Regions from separate parts of the Homo sapiens genome. Here region 2 is linked to region 1. Evidence: promoter capture Hi-C in 16 types of primary human blood cells and fetal thymus (Javierre and others, 2016). All regions are on one chromosome and are shown on one strand. Each heading gives the region's core, a stretch centred on a gene start or on the middle of the fragment in contact. The rest is flanking DNA. Distances are from core to core; before and after follow the strand shown. Region 1 holds the start of AFG3L2 (AFG3 like matrix AAA peptidase subunit 2). Region 2 overlaps RNMT (RNA guanine-7 methyltransferase).

Region 1 (6,678 bases), core at 1,852-4,351:
ATAATCCGTGACTGAATTTAACACTGAGGTTGTGTTCTATGAAGAAATCATCAATGAAACTTCTTCTCCTCTGCATATGTAATCCAAGATCTGCATGTCTAGCATTCAAAGAATAATGTAAGAGATACTAATTCACAAAATTTAAGTTGAGAGCACCGCATTTTGGAGAATTAGCCTTTATGTTTGACAACAGGAGCACTTTTCAGTTGCTTTATCATCAGTCTTATTCCTCTGGGCATCACACCTGAGAACTCATCTCTCAACACATCAGAATCTCTTCCTCACCGTGAAAGCAGTACTTCTGTCTCTGATCTTTAAGGGTAGCAGGAACATAAAGGAAAACCTGTCCTATCAGACTCCCTCACAGCACAGTAATGCCCAGGTGTCACTAGGCAAATCTTCAGAGAGTACCAAAGAGTATGTATCAGGACCGCGAACCCCCACACCCTCCGCAAATCAATCAGCTACAGCTGTCAGCACAGAGGACTTCCTTATACATCAGCATCTGAGTGATACAGGGACAATAGTGTCACTCAAAAGGAAAGCCTTTGGGTAACACTTCTGACATAAAACTGCAAACTCACAATGCAGATCCCCACCTGGAACTGTATGTCTGAATCCAATATTCATGAGCAGCAAAAGAAAAGCAGTCAGGCCGGGCAAGGTGGCTCACGTCTGTAATACTAGCACTTTGGGAGGCCAAATGGATTGCTTGAGGCCAGGAGTTTGAGACCAGCCTGGCCAACAAGGTGAAACACCATCTCTACTAAAAATACAAAATTTAGCCAGGCGTAGTGGCGGGCGCCTGTAATCCCAGCTACTCGGGAGGCTGAGGCAGGAGAATTGCTTGAACCCTGGAGGCGAAGGTTGCAGTGACCCAAAATCACACCACTGCACTCCAGTCTGGGCGACAGAGCGAGACCCTGTCTCAAAAAAAAAAAAAAAAGAAAAGAAAAGAAAAGGGATCAGAGCTTGGTAAAACAGGGAAATGGATACAGGAAACCGAAAAAGGACCTACCACACGGCAGCGTGGCGTGACCATGGCGAAGAAATTGATTTAAGACTGGCAAGGGAGCCTCAAGGAGTAAAAATCATGAATGCAGGCACTATTATTCCCCCTCCCCACCCCCGCTCTTTTTTTTTTTAGGAGACAGAGTCCGTCACCCACGCTGGAGTACAGCAATGCAATCAAAACTCACTGGAGCCTCAACCTCCCGCGCCAAGCAACCCGCCTTGGCCCCCCGAGTTGCTGGGACTATAGTCATAAGTCACTGAGCCCAGGTAAGAAAAAAAAAAAAAAAACAATTTGTAGAGGCCAGGAGCTGTGGCTCAGGTCTGTAATTCCAACACTTTGAGAGGAGGAGGCGGGAGGATCGCCTGGGTCCTGGAGTTCCAGGCCAGCCTGGGCAACTGGGCAAGATGGTGAACCCTATCTTTTGGGACGGAGTCTCGCTCTGTCGCCCAGGCTAGAGTGCAGTGGCCCGCTCTTGGCTCACTGCCAGCTCCACCGCCCAGGTTCACGCCATTCCCCTGCCTCAGTCTCCCGAGCAGCTGGGACTACAGGCGCCCGCCACCACGCCCGGCTAATTTTTTGTATTTTTAGTAGAGATGGGGTTTCACCGTGTTAGCCAGGATGATCTCGATTTTCTGACCTCGTGATCCACCCGCCTGCTGGGATTACAGCCGTGAGCTACCGCGCCTGGCCTCTCCAGAAACTTTTTAAAAATCAACCACGGTGCTGTAGTCCCAGATACTCCGGAGGCTGAGGCGGGAGGATCGCTTGAGTTTGGGGCTGCAGTGAGCTGTGTTTGCGCCGCTGCACTCCGGCCTGGGCGAAGAAGCAAAACCCCGTCTCTTAAAAAATAAAAATAAAAATAAAAATCGTAGATCGGAGGGTCTGCTACCCTACCCAAGCTGGTTTCCAACTCCTGGAGTCAAGCGATTCTCCCGCCTCGGCCTCCCTAAGTGCTGGGATCGCAGGCGTGAGCCCCGGCACTAGCCTATCTCCCCTTACAGTGAAGACGTTGAGCTGACTACAAGGGCGCTGGGATAGCAGGAGGCCAAGCCAGGTTCCCGTGGCCGACCCGGGGACCTCAACCACCACCCGTACACCAGTGCAAGGCTGAGGAACCGTGTCACTTAAACAGTGAGAGCGACTATTCGACACGTGAACCTTTCATTGAGACTGATCACGGCCATGGTTCTGTCAACACTCTATCATTATGTCAGAAACACGTATCAGGTCCCGTGTGTGTATCTAGAGGGATGGCTACCAACAGAGAAAGAGCCTCCTGCTGAGAGCAGGCCCTGATATGCAACGAACACAGAGTCCCTGCTATGAAAAGGTGACATTCTTAATAATAATAGCTAATACTGCCAGTCCTGGAATGCCCGCAATGGCCCCATTCAACAGACGGGAACACGGAGACTCGGAGAGGTTAGGCAGCCCGACTCCAAAACCCGTCCTTGCGACTACATCGTGCTCGTGCTGCTGACTCAAAATTACAGACGCCTTCGTTCCGTGCTCCGGGGACACGAAAGCGGGGACAAGGACGGCCACCAAGCCAACATGACCTTCGAGGCTTCAACCGCCCCGGTGAAGCGCGAAAACCCGGCTCTACTGAAGCTGCGCGTTTTCAAAACTTGAATCCCACAGGCAGGGCTGAGCGCGAATCGGCGCTCCCGGGGCCGGCTGAGAGACAGCGCAGGGCGCCCAGGCCCTCGGCAGGGACGGCCCGCGTGCGGCCGGAGGGCGGGGGCCAGTGACCTTGACGTCCGCTCTCCCGAGCCGGAAGTGGGCCCGAGGCAGGGTGGAGGGCGCCGGGCGCCCAGGTAGGACTCACCGTCCGGAGGCAGGGCTGCTCGCCCGGGCCCACGCCGCCAGGCACGAGGAGCTGCTGTAGGCCGCGGGGCCAGCAGCCGCCCCGGCCCCACAGCCGCAAACAGCGGTGCGCCATGGCCGCCGCCGTGGCCCTCTCGGCCCGGGACGCTGCGCAGGCGCGGGCAGGCGACGACTGGCGGCCTCGGGAAGCGGGCTCGGCTCGGGGAAAGGCCGCCAGGCAGCGAAGCGCGCCGGCGGCTCACGGAGGAGCCCAAGCTCTCAACGCGGCGTCTCCTGCCGCCAGCCCCGCCCCGGCGCGCTGACGTCGGCGTCTCCTCTCCGAGGCCCGCCGCGACCTCCGCCAGTGCAGAAGACAGGACCAAATGGGAGGAGCATGGGGGCGGGACCGGAGGCGGGGGCCGACGGAGCAGCGTTGGGGGCGCGGCAGGAGGCGGGGCCGAGAAGGACCCTGGAGGGCAAGGGGGAGCTAGAGGCGGGGACCGGGCCGAGGGAGGACTCGGGAGGGCGAGCGAGAGCTGGGGGCGGGGCTGATGGCGCACGTGGGGGGCGTGGCTGGAGGTGGGGCCGAGGAAGGACTAGGAGAGCGAGCAGGAGCTGGAGGCGGGGCCGACGGAGGGGTGTGGGGGGCGTGGCTGGAGGCGGGGACTAAGGGGAGACGCGTGACTGGGATCCTGGGCTTCCGAGCCTGGGCAGCCGGGTGGGCCAGCCAGTAGGAGCGAGGGGGAAGTAGCGAAGGCCCCAGCGGCGGCAGATGGAAGGACCCTCCGAGCGCCAGCTGAGTCATGGGGTGGTGCTAGGCTCTGGAGACACCGAAGCACACATTCCTGACCCCTGGGAGGGCGATGCGAAGATTCACAAGCAGCAGGGAATGTTGGGGCTGTGCCGTGCAGCCTGCGCTCTAGGAACCCTGTCGGGGAACTGGTTCTCGGAGAGCAAGTCGAGTCTTCCAGGTAGTGGAAACTACACATTGTTTCCTGTACCGTGACAGCGGAGGAAAAAGGAGAGGTCTTTGAACTGAGGTGGGGGACTTGGGGGTTTTTCTGAGACGGGCTCTCGCTCTGTCGCCCAGGCTGGCGACGCTGGACCTCAGGCAAAGGACAGTAATCCTTGAGAGACAGGAGACAAAACCAGGTGAGTCCTGTGATTACCCCAGTGGCAGTAAAACAATAACAAAAAGATATACCAGATACACCATCATACCATGCTCACACAAAAGAAAACTGAGTAGACAAATAGATTTTAGGGCAAGGAAATTCCAAAGAAAATTAATTGCAGGGAAAAGAATATCACTAAGGATGAAGAGGATCGGGTTTCTTTTCCAGAGACAGGGTCTCAGTCTGTCACTTAGGCTGGAATGCCATGGTGCAATCGTAGCTCACTGCAGCCTCTAACTCCTGGGCTCAAGGGATCCTCCTGCCTCAGCCTCCCAAGTAGCTGGGACCACACACGCTCGACCACACTCGACTTTTTTTATTTTGTGTAGAGTTGAAGTCTCACTTTGTTGCCCAGGCTAGTCTCAAACTCCTGGCTTTAAGCAATCCTCCTGACTCAGCCTCCCAAAGTGCTGGGATTACAGATGTGAGCCACCCACATCTGGCCAAGAGAATTATTATTATTATTATTATTATTATTATTATTATTATAAAGGGGTCAGTTCATCAGTAGGACATAACAACCCTAAACATCTTTGTTCCCATTAACAGAAGCTTAAAATACATGGAGCAAAGACTGACAGAACCACAACTTCCAATTATATTTGGAGATTTCAAATCCTTCTTTTGATAATTGACAGAACAATTAGACAGGAAAATAGTAAGTATATAGAAGACTTAAACACAACCAACTAAATCAAATAGACATTTATAGAAAACTACTCATAACAACAGAATACACATTATTTTCAAGTTTTCACAGAGCACTTATCAAAATAAACCATATTGTAGGCCATAAAAATATTAAGAGGAGTCAAGTCATATAAAACATATTTTCTATCCACAATGAAATTAAATTAGAAATCAGTATCAGAAATAGGCTGAGGTGAGAGGATCACTTGAGCCCAAGAGTTCCAGACAAGCCTGGGCAAAACAAAGACCTCGGCTTCAAAAAAGAAAAAACTAGACAGAAAATGAAGTAAAACCAAAGAACAGAAAGAAGATAAAAGTAAAAATCAATAAAATTAAAAACTAAAAGACATAGAGAAATGAATGAAATCAAAGTGTGTTCTTTGAGAAGATCAATAGTCAGAGCAATCAGGAAAAAAGAAAATGACACAAATTGGCCCAGCACGGTGGCTCATGCCTGTAATCCCAACACTTTGGGAGGCCAAGGCAGGCAGATCACCTGAGGTCAGGAGTTTGAGACCAGCAAGCAGGCCAAAAAAAGAAAGAAAAAGAAACAAGGAAGGAAAGAGAGTGAGAGAAAGAAAGGAGAGAGAGAGAGAGAAAGAAAGAGAAAGAAAGTAAGAGAGAGAGAGGCCGGGCAAGGTGGCTCACGCCTGTAATCCCAGCACTTTGGGAGGCTGAGGTGGGCGGATCACGAGTTCAGGAGTTCAATACCAGCCTGGCCAATATGGTGAAACCCCGTCTCTACTAAAAATACAAAAATTAGCTGGGTGTGGTGGCGTGCGCCTGTAGTCCCAGGTACTCAGGAGGCTGAGGCAGAAGCAGAAGAATCGCTTGAACCCAGGAGGCGGAGGTTGCAGTGAGCCAAGATTGTGTCACTGCACTCCAGCCTGGGTGACAGAGCGAGATTCCATCTCAAAAAAAAAAAAAAAAAGGAACAAAGAAACCCCATCTCTACTAAAAAAAAAAAAAATACAAAAATTAGCCGGGCATGGTGGCAAGCACCTGTAGTCCCAGCTATTCGGGAGGCTGAGATAGGAGAATAACTTGAACCTGGGAGTCAGAGATTGCAGTGAGCCAAGATCGCGCCACTGCACTCTAGCCTGGAATGCGAGACTCCATCTCAAAAAAAAAAAAAAAAGACACAAATTACCAATACCAAGAATGAGAAAGTTGACATGACTTCACATTCTACATATATTAAAATGAAAATAGAATATACGCCAATGAATTTGAACAATGAACTATACAAATTCCTTGTGAAATACAAGTTACCAAAGCTCACTTTTAAGACAACACAAAAAGTCCTACATCTATTAAATAAATTGAATTTGTAGTTAAAAACGTTTCCATGGGTTGGGCGTGGTGGCTCACGCCTGTAATCCCAGTGCTTTGGGAGGCCAAGGCAGGCTGATCACCAGAGGTCAGGAGTTCAAGACCAGCCTGACCAACATGGAGAAAACCCGTCTCTACTAAAAATACAAAATTAGCCAGCCGTGGTGGCACACGTCTGTAATCCCAGCTACTTGGGAGGCTGAGGCAGGAGAATCGTTTGAACCCAGGAGGCAGAGGTTGCGGTGAGTGGAGTTAGCACCATTGCACTCAGCCTGGGCAACAAGAGCAAAACTCCATCTCAAAAAAACAAAAACAAAACAAAACCTTTCCATGAAGGAGACCCCAGGCCTGGATGGCTTAACTAAGAAATTCTACCAAACATTTAAGGAAGAAATAATACCAATTCTAAAGAAGTTCTTCCAGAAAATTAACATGGGGAAGTACTTCTCAATTCTTTCTATGAGGCCATTACCCTAATATTAAAACCAGACAAAGACATTACTGAAAAACAAACTACAAAACAAAACACTATAAGCCTATATCTTCCATGAATATAGTTGCAACAATTCTCAACAAAATATTAGCAAATCAAATCAAACAATGTATAAAAAGAGCTATATACCACAACCAGTGGGATTTATCCCAGATATGAAAGGCTTG
Region 2 (6,893 bases), core at 2,388-4,887, 1.4 Mb after region 1:
GCACTTTGGGAGGCCAAGGCAGGAGGATTGCTTGAGGCCAGGAGTTTGAGACCAGCCTGGACAACATAGTGAGACCTTGTCTTTACAAAAAATTTACAAATTAGCCAGCATGGTGGCACGCCCCTGTAGTCCTTGCTCAGGAGGCTGAGGCAGGAGGATCACTTGAGCCCAGGAGTTGGTGGCTGTAGTGAGCTATGATCACACCACCACACTCCAGCCTGAATGACAGATTAAGACCTTGTCACTTTAAAAAAAAAAAAAAAAGGTAGCCCAGATATAATTAAAAGGCTAATCAAGTGTGCATCATGTAGTTTTTCACATGCATAATCTGATCAAAATAAGTCTACACTAATCACAATTTTAATCTTTTTATTTTGGTTGGGGGATAACCTTGATAGAAGACGCCTTGAAGCTTCAGAAACAGAATCATTTGGAAATGAAATATATACTGTGAAATTTCAGAAGAAAGGAGATTATCCTTTATTTGGCTGCAAATATGACTTCAACTTGGAAGGTGTTGTGGATGTTCCTGAATTCTTGGTCTATTTTCCATTGCTAAATGAGTAAGAAGTCATTAATCTGTTCACTCTTTTCTTTTTGTCTTAAGGGAAAGAAAAGCGGGGAAAAGCAATATTTATTTTACTCTTTATTTTAAATGAGGGCTAAAGAAAAAGTATAATCTTGTTTTTTTGTTTTTGTGTTTTTAAAAAAAAAAAACAAAACAAGACTAGCTTCACATCTAGGGGATTATTGCCATAGGTCTCATAATAGCCTAACTTAGTTTTCTCTCATTCCTGGAATTTTTTAATCCTGTGGGTGAAAAAGGGAACCAGTTGCCTTCAGCTTGTGGCACAAAATGCCTGACACTGCAAATAGCAAAAGTTTTTTTTTTTTTTTTAGTGACTACTGGTAACTTTGATGATAAACAATGAGTCTTCATAAATCAAAGATCCGGCCGGGCGCGGTGGCTCACGCCTGTAATCCCAGCACTTTGGGAGGCCGAGACGGGCGGATCATGAGGTCAGGAGATCGAGACCATCCTGGCTGACACGGTGAAACCCCGTCTCTACTAAAAATACAAAAATTAGCTGGGCATGGTGGCGCGCGCCTGTAGTCCCAGCTACTCGGGAGGCTGAGGCAGGAGAATGGCATGAACCCGGGAGGCGGAGCTTGCAGTGAGTCGAGATCGCGCCACTGCGCTCCAGCCTGGGCGACAGAGCGAAACTCCGTCTCAAAAAAAAAATAAATAAATAAATAAATAAATAAATAAATAAATAAATAAATCAAAGATCCTCCTTTTGACAGAGATGAGTATTAAAAGTTGTTTGCATTTCACTATAACTTTGAAATTGCCTATGTCTCACAGGCAATGTTGATGATAAAATCCTGATTCAGGAATGTATTCTCCCATGTGCCTGAATTCCTAGGAGTCCTGGCAAACTGTAGACACAGGAAAAGCTGGGGGTAACTGGGCCTTACCAGGTAAGGCTTCAAGGCCTTGTGATACACCTTGGTTTCCAGAGTTTCCCCGGTGGGGAGAGTATAAAAGTCAGCTTAAATGTAGGCCATGTCATGATTGATTGAACTTGATTTTCTACTTTTTAGAAACAAAAATCTTTTGTTTTGAATATTAACTGAGAAAAAGAAGAGGTATATTGTCTGCTTACTTCTGCTTGGTGCTTATTTTAATTGTAACTCAGTCAGTCTGTAAAATTAGGGTTACAGTATTTTCAGGAGTTCTATAATAGCTTATTCAATAATATAAGAAAGCCAAGTAGCATTGTGACTGAACATGAGGAAAATACTGTGCATAATTTTATAAATATAAACCATTTACAAAATTTAAAAATATCAATTACATTTTCCTTTTAATTTTTAAAACTAATAAACTGGGGAAATGTTACTGCTCTTCAACTTTATTTAAAAAAGAACTTAATTGTGGAATGTTATTGAGTATGTTTAATATGTTAGCTTGAGATTTTAGTTAACAGTTTGGTGATTTTAGTATAATCAAAAAGATAATAAAACAAAAGATTTGTTTTAAATGCTAAACAAGACCTAGCGGTCTTCTTTTTTTTTTTTTTTTTTTTTTTTTTGACTTAAATTGCCTAATGATGGTAAACCTAAGTCATCAGTTTAATATCTAATTTTTTAAAAGATTATTTATTGAAACAGTATTGGATGAAATAGAATCTGAAAATGTGTGGGGGTTTTGAGATGCCTTTTTGCCATTTCATTAAGAAATTTAACAGAAATAAGCTTTTTGTGTGGCAAAACTTATTCAAATTGGGCCTCAATTCTTTGAATCATGATTTTTTTAGGTGTAAAACTTGGTTTCATTTCTAAAGGGTTATTTTAGAGATTTACAAACGAAAATGAACTGCCTGGAATAAAAAACTTGGTTTCATTTCTAAAGGCTTATTTTAGAGATTTACAAAAGAAAATGAACTGCCTGGAATAAAAAACTTGGTTTCATTTCTAAAGGCTTATTTTAGAGATTTACAAAAGAAAATGAACTGCCTGGAATAAAAGACTTAATTTTGCTCATGTTGCCTTTCCAAGGAGGATTAATTGAAGTAACAGAATCCTGCCTTACGTATACCTCTTACATAGAAACCTCAGTGGCCCTCCAGTGTTTGCCCTTACCCTATCCCCTCAAATGCCACCCTGTACACGAGCCTTCCCACCTAATTTTCAGGGTTTCTCCCCTTCCTTCCACTCTTCCTTTAACTGCTGCCTGAAGTCATCTCCAGGCTCCCTCTTGTTGTCTACAGATACATGATTATAAACTTGGCAAATGCAGTGAGGAAAAAAACTACCTGAGAGTCTAACGGAGAGACCTAATATAATTAAGATTTAAGGAAGGTGCCTGTAAAGAATCGATGTTTGAGTCAGGATCTAAAGGATGGAAAAGTAGGTGGGCAGCTGAGGACTGGAGGGAAGAATGCTCCTGACAAGAGGACAGCGTGTGTGAGGGCCCAGCAGTGGGAAAGCTAGGCTAGTCCAAGATGTTGAAAGAAGGCCCATCCTGATTTATATCGGGGGCTGTCCCAAAATGAGGCAGCATTCCTTTACAGATGAATGTCTTCGAGACCATGTTCTGTATCCTAAGTGCACTGGAGCCCAGTGGAGGGTGTTAAGGGGGTAGTGACATGACTCAGGTCCGCATTTCTGAAAGCTTAATCTGGCTGCGATTGGAAAATTCATTGAGGGAGAGTAAGAATGGAAGCAGGGGACAAGCAAAGTGAGTTTATGGACTGGTGCCACTGAGTGGTGATGGTGACTGAAGCAGCAGGATGGTGCCAAATGCAGGAGGTAAGAAGTGGACCTATTTGAAATTGATGTTTTCTAGGTAAAATAGAAAGGACTTAGTGATGTGTATTGAGCACAGTGGGTAAAAGAGAAGGGGAGATGGCATGGATCACTAGGTGGATTTACTGAAATGGCAAAGATTGGCAGTAAAAGAGCAGTGATGTTCAGCCTTAGATGTGGGACGTTAGAGAGTGCCAGTGACACATGCAGGTGAAGATTTCTAATAAGCAGTAGAATCCATGAGTGATGAGAGACAGCTGAACTACCGATAGCTGGGGGGTGGAAGTGAGTAGGGCTCTGGACTGTACTCTACAGAACCTTGAAGTTTAGAAGTTGGGTAAAAAAAAACCTGTAAGTGAAAAGGAAAAAAAAAAAACCTGCAAAGAAGCAGTTCATGATGTAGGGGAAAAATTAATAGTGTATCTTGCCAGAGAAGTCGAGATGAAAGTGAATCTTTAAGAAGGAAGTTGGCAGCTGTTTGCAGTGCAGCTGTGAGAGATCAAGTAAAGTGAAATGGAATCAGTAGAAAAGAGTTTCCTACACTTTTTCCGCATCTCACAGCTCCGGAGACTCTCATTTACTTCCTGACCTTTATGTTATACTAATAGAGCCCTCTGAAACCCCTGAGATTTAGAATGCATGTTTCTTTTAGGTGTGATATGTTACTCTTGATTCATTTTGTATTACTGTATTGTGAATTTATCAAGGGAGTGGTAGCTTTTTTAGTTAAGTCCAGAAGATGTCATTGCTGTACAAAAGTAAGTTGAGGAATTACAAACATGTGGAAGCTTTTTCATTAAGTATTCTTTTTTGGACAGAATGGCAAAGAAGTACAATATGAAACTAGTCTACAAAAAAACATTTCTGGAATTCTACGAAGAAAAGATTAAGAACAATGAAAATAAAATGCTCTTAAAACGAATGCAGGCCTTGGAGGTGAGTATTTAGAAAAGATGTACAAATTTCAGTCATGGTGAACTTGTTTGGCTGTTCTTGAGATCCTTGCAAGGCCATCTGAACATGAAATAGTTATGTGTATTACGCTCTTCAGCACCTAGGACGGAGCTTGATACAGAAACTGCATGGTGAGTGCTCAGTAAATACTTGATGAAAGAATGAGTACTGGTGTTACCAAATTCTGTTTTCTAGGATAGTACTGCTTTAAAATAGGATTTCTCAGCCTCAGGACTGTTGACATTTTGTTCTGGATAATGCCTTGCTGTGGGATGCTGTGCATTGTAGGATATTCAGTAGCATTCCTGGCTTCTACGCACTAGATGCCTTCCAGTAACACTCTTGTCCCCAGTTACGATAACCAGAAAACTCTCTCCAGACATTGCCAAATGTCCCCTGGTGGACAAAATTGCCCCAAGTTGAGAACCAGTTCTTTACAACAGTGCCTTTTGGTTACGACAGTAATTTAGAACCTTCCTGGCCAGTGTCCAGACAAGCTCAAACCATACATAATTTTATTGCATGGTAATTCTTTAGCAGGGTTCCAGTCTTTTAGACTGTGTTGTTGCTGAGACCTCTCCTGTCCTAATGCAGCAGTGAAGGTATCTATATAAGCTTCAATTACACAGCCATTGATTGTTTTTCCTTTTTCTCCTTACCAGACAATGTTTGGTTGGACAGACCTAAAATATTCAGTGAGCATTTTTATTATTGATCAGTAGAATCATATTCATCAAATGGACATTAAACTTCCTTAGAGAGTTTATTCAGTTTAAGTACTTTAAGCATACTCTGACTTCTTTATCCTTATAATTACCTCCATGAAGTAGGCAGAATGGTAACTTTTCACTAATTTTTTTCCTATTTTTTTTTTTTTGTTGTTAATGACAGGATCTCGCTCTGTTGCCCAGGCTGGAGTGCAGTGATGTGATCACAGCTCACTGAGGCCTTCACCTTCTGGAAGGTGATCCTCCCACCTGAGCCTCCTGAGTAACTGACTACAAGCGTGTGTCACCACACCTGTCTCAGTTTTAAACTTTTTGTGCTGATGAAGTTTTGCTGTGTTGCGCAGGCTGGTCTCAAACTCCTGGCCTCATCAAGCAATCCTCCCGCCTTGGCCTCCCAAAGTACTGGGATTACAGGTGTGAGCCACTGCACCTGGCCAGTTTTCACATTTTTTTAGTGGGCAGCCTGAGGCTCAGAGGATAATGACTTGCTCAAGGCATACTAACCTTTAGATTTTCTTCAGTTTTTGTAGATGATACTCAAACAGAAGTCTCCTGTTGAAGTTGCACCTGCACCCAGCCACTCCCACAATGTTGAGTGGGAGGACTTTTTATAAATTCTAAATTGTCTTTTAAGAGACATAATCAGTAAAATTTCATATTCCTCATTAGTTATATTTCCTATACTTTAGATCTAAGAATGTTTTTATTGGCTTTATATTAGGAATGGATGCTTGTTTTGTTTGTCTTAAGGAAGAGGAGAAAACTAGCAAAACTATGTGTGGATAAGTCCCCCTGTCCCACATATACAGCATATCTTTAGCATATTGCCTTTATTTGATGGTGCTTTGCATGATAGTGGTCAATTATTTAGCCTTTCTCTTAGCATATGGGTAGTGAATTCACTTGTGTAATGTATGTCAAAATCTACTTAGGTATGGTAGGGTATGGGATAACAAGAATTTTATGGCATGTTATTTCAGTGAATAATGCAGTCCATGATGGGAACTGCAGTATTGAAGCATTCCAAGTGCAGTGAGTATATAAAGGGCCTTTTGGGAAGGAAGAAGATTGGTAGAGGACAGGCAGAGAAACCAGAGTGCACAGGAGATGTTTGAGGAAGTAGTGCTAATGGCCTTCACAGTTCTTCAGCAGTCTTCCTTCTCTCCCAGTACTGCACTTGGGGATATGACCTGTTACCATGGCTGTCTGGGGACAGAAGCAGTAATAGCATGTAGTTTGAAAAATCCTTTGGTTTTCCTACTTCTTGACCAAGTCACTCTGGTGGGCGTGTAAAGGACTTGGAGCAGGAAAGGACATGACCAGATAAGAGTTAGGACACTACTTGGGTGGCATAATGGGGGATGGTTTGGAGGGACTTTGAGACCAGACCAGAGGTGGAAAGAGCAGTCGGATGCCACTGCTTTCGACCAGGTCAGAGGTTTAAATGGATCTGTTTCTTGATATTTGTCCCAAAAAGTCTTTTCCTGAAGCATCCAGCTTTTATCTGGGTTCAGCACTAGAACCAGTACAACTTTTCTGCTTTCCTGGAGCGTTGGAACAGAGAGAAGAAAGAATGAAAAGATGTAGGCCATGGAACTGTAGGTCCTGACACCTGTTTTCTTTTTTTCACCAGCAAACATATTCTAGGGACAGTTCTGGAAAAGTAACTCCTTTTAGAGGAGACACTAAGATATATATGTTTTAATAAGTTTTGGTCCCGGCATGGTGGCTCATGCCTGTAACCCCAGCACTTTGGGAGGCCAAGGCGGGCAGATAACCTGAGGTCAGGAGTTGTAGAGCAGCCTGGCCAACATGGTAAAACCCCGTCTCTACTAAAAATACAAAATTAGCCAGGTGTGGTGGTGCATACTTGTAATCCCAGCTACTCAGGAGGCTGAG

The links. Contacts are between HindIII fragments. The CHiCAGO score rates a contact against its expected background, and 5 or more counts as called.
Region 2: a fragment that was not itself captured here is called in contact with the fragment with the promoter of AFG3L2 in region 1 in 1 of 17 cell types (naive CD8 T cells); the score reaches 6.4 in naive CD8 T cells.

The regions. Positions count from the first base shown.
Region 1 is chr18:12,374,126-12,380,803 of GRCh38, forward strand. It overlaps AFG3L2 (AFG3 like matrix AAA peptidase subunit 2), which reads right to left and starts at 3,102. Exons shown (of 17, transcript NM_006796.3): 1 at 2,844-3,102. The coding sequence starts at 2,957. RefSeq lists a silencer at 2,667-3,566 and enhancers at 3,339-3,870, 3,871-4,400. The HindIII fragment of the contact is 9,454 bases long and covers 1-4,546 here.
Region 2 is chr18:13,742,090-13,748,982 of GRCh38, forward strand. RNMT (RNA guanine-7 methyltransferase) reads left to right here. Exons shown (of 12, transcript NM_003799.3): 8 at 399-563; 9 at 4,131-4,248. Among named protein-coding and RNA genes, the nearest start is that of RNMT, 19 kb to the left of the region's middle. The HindIII fragment of the contact is 922 bases long and covers 3,177-4,098 here.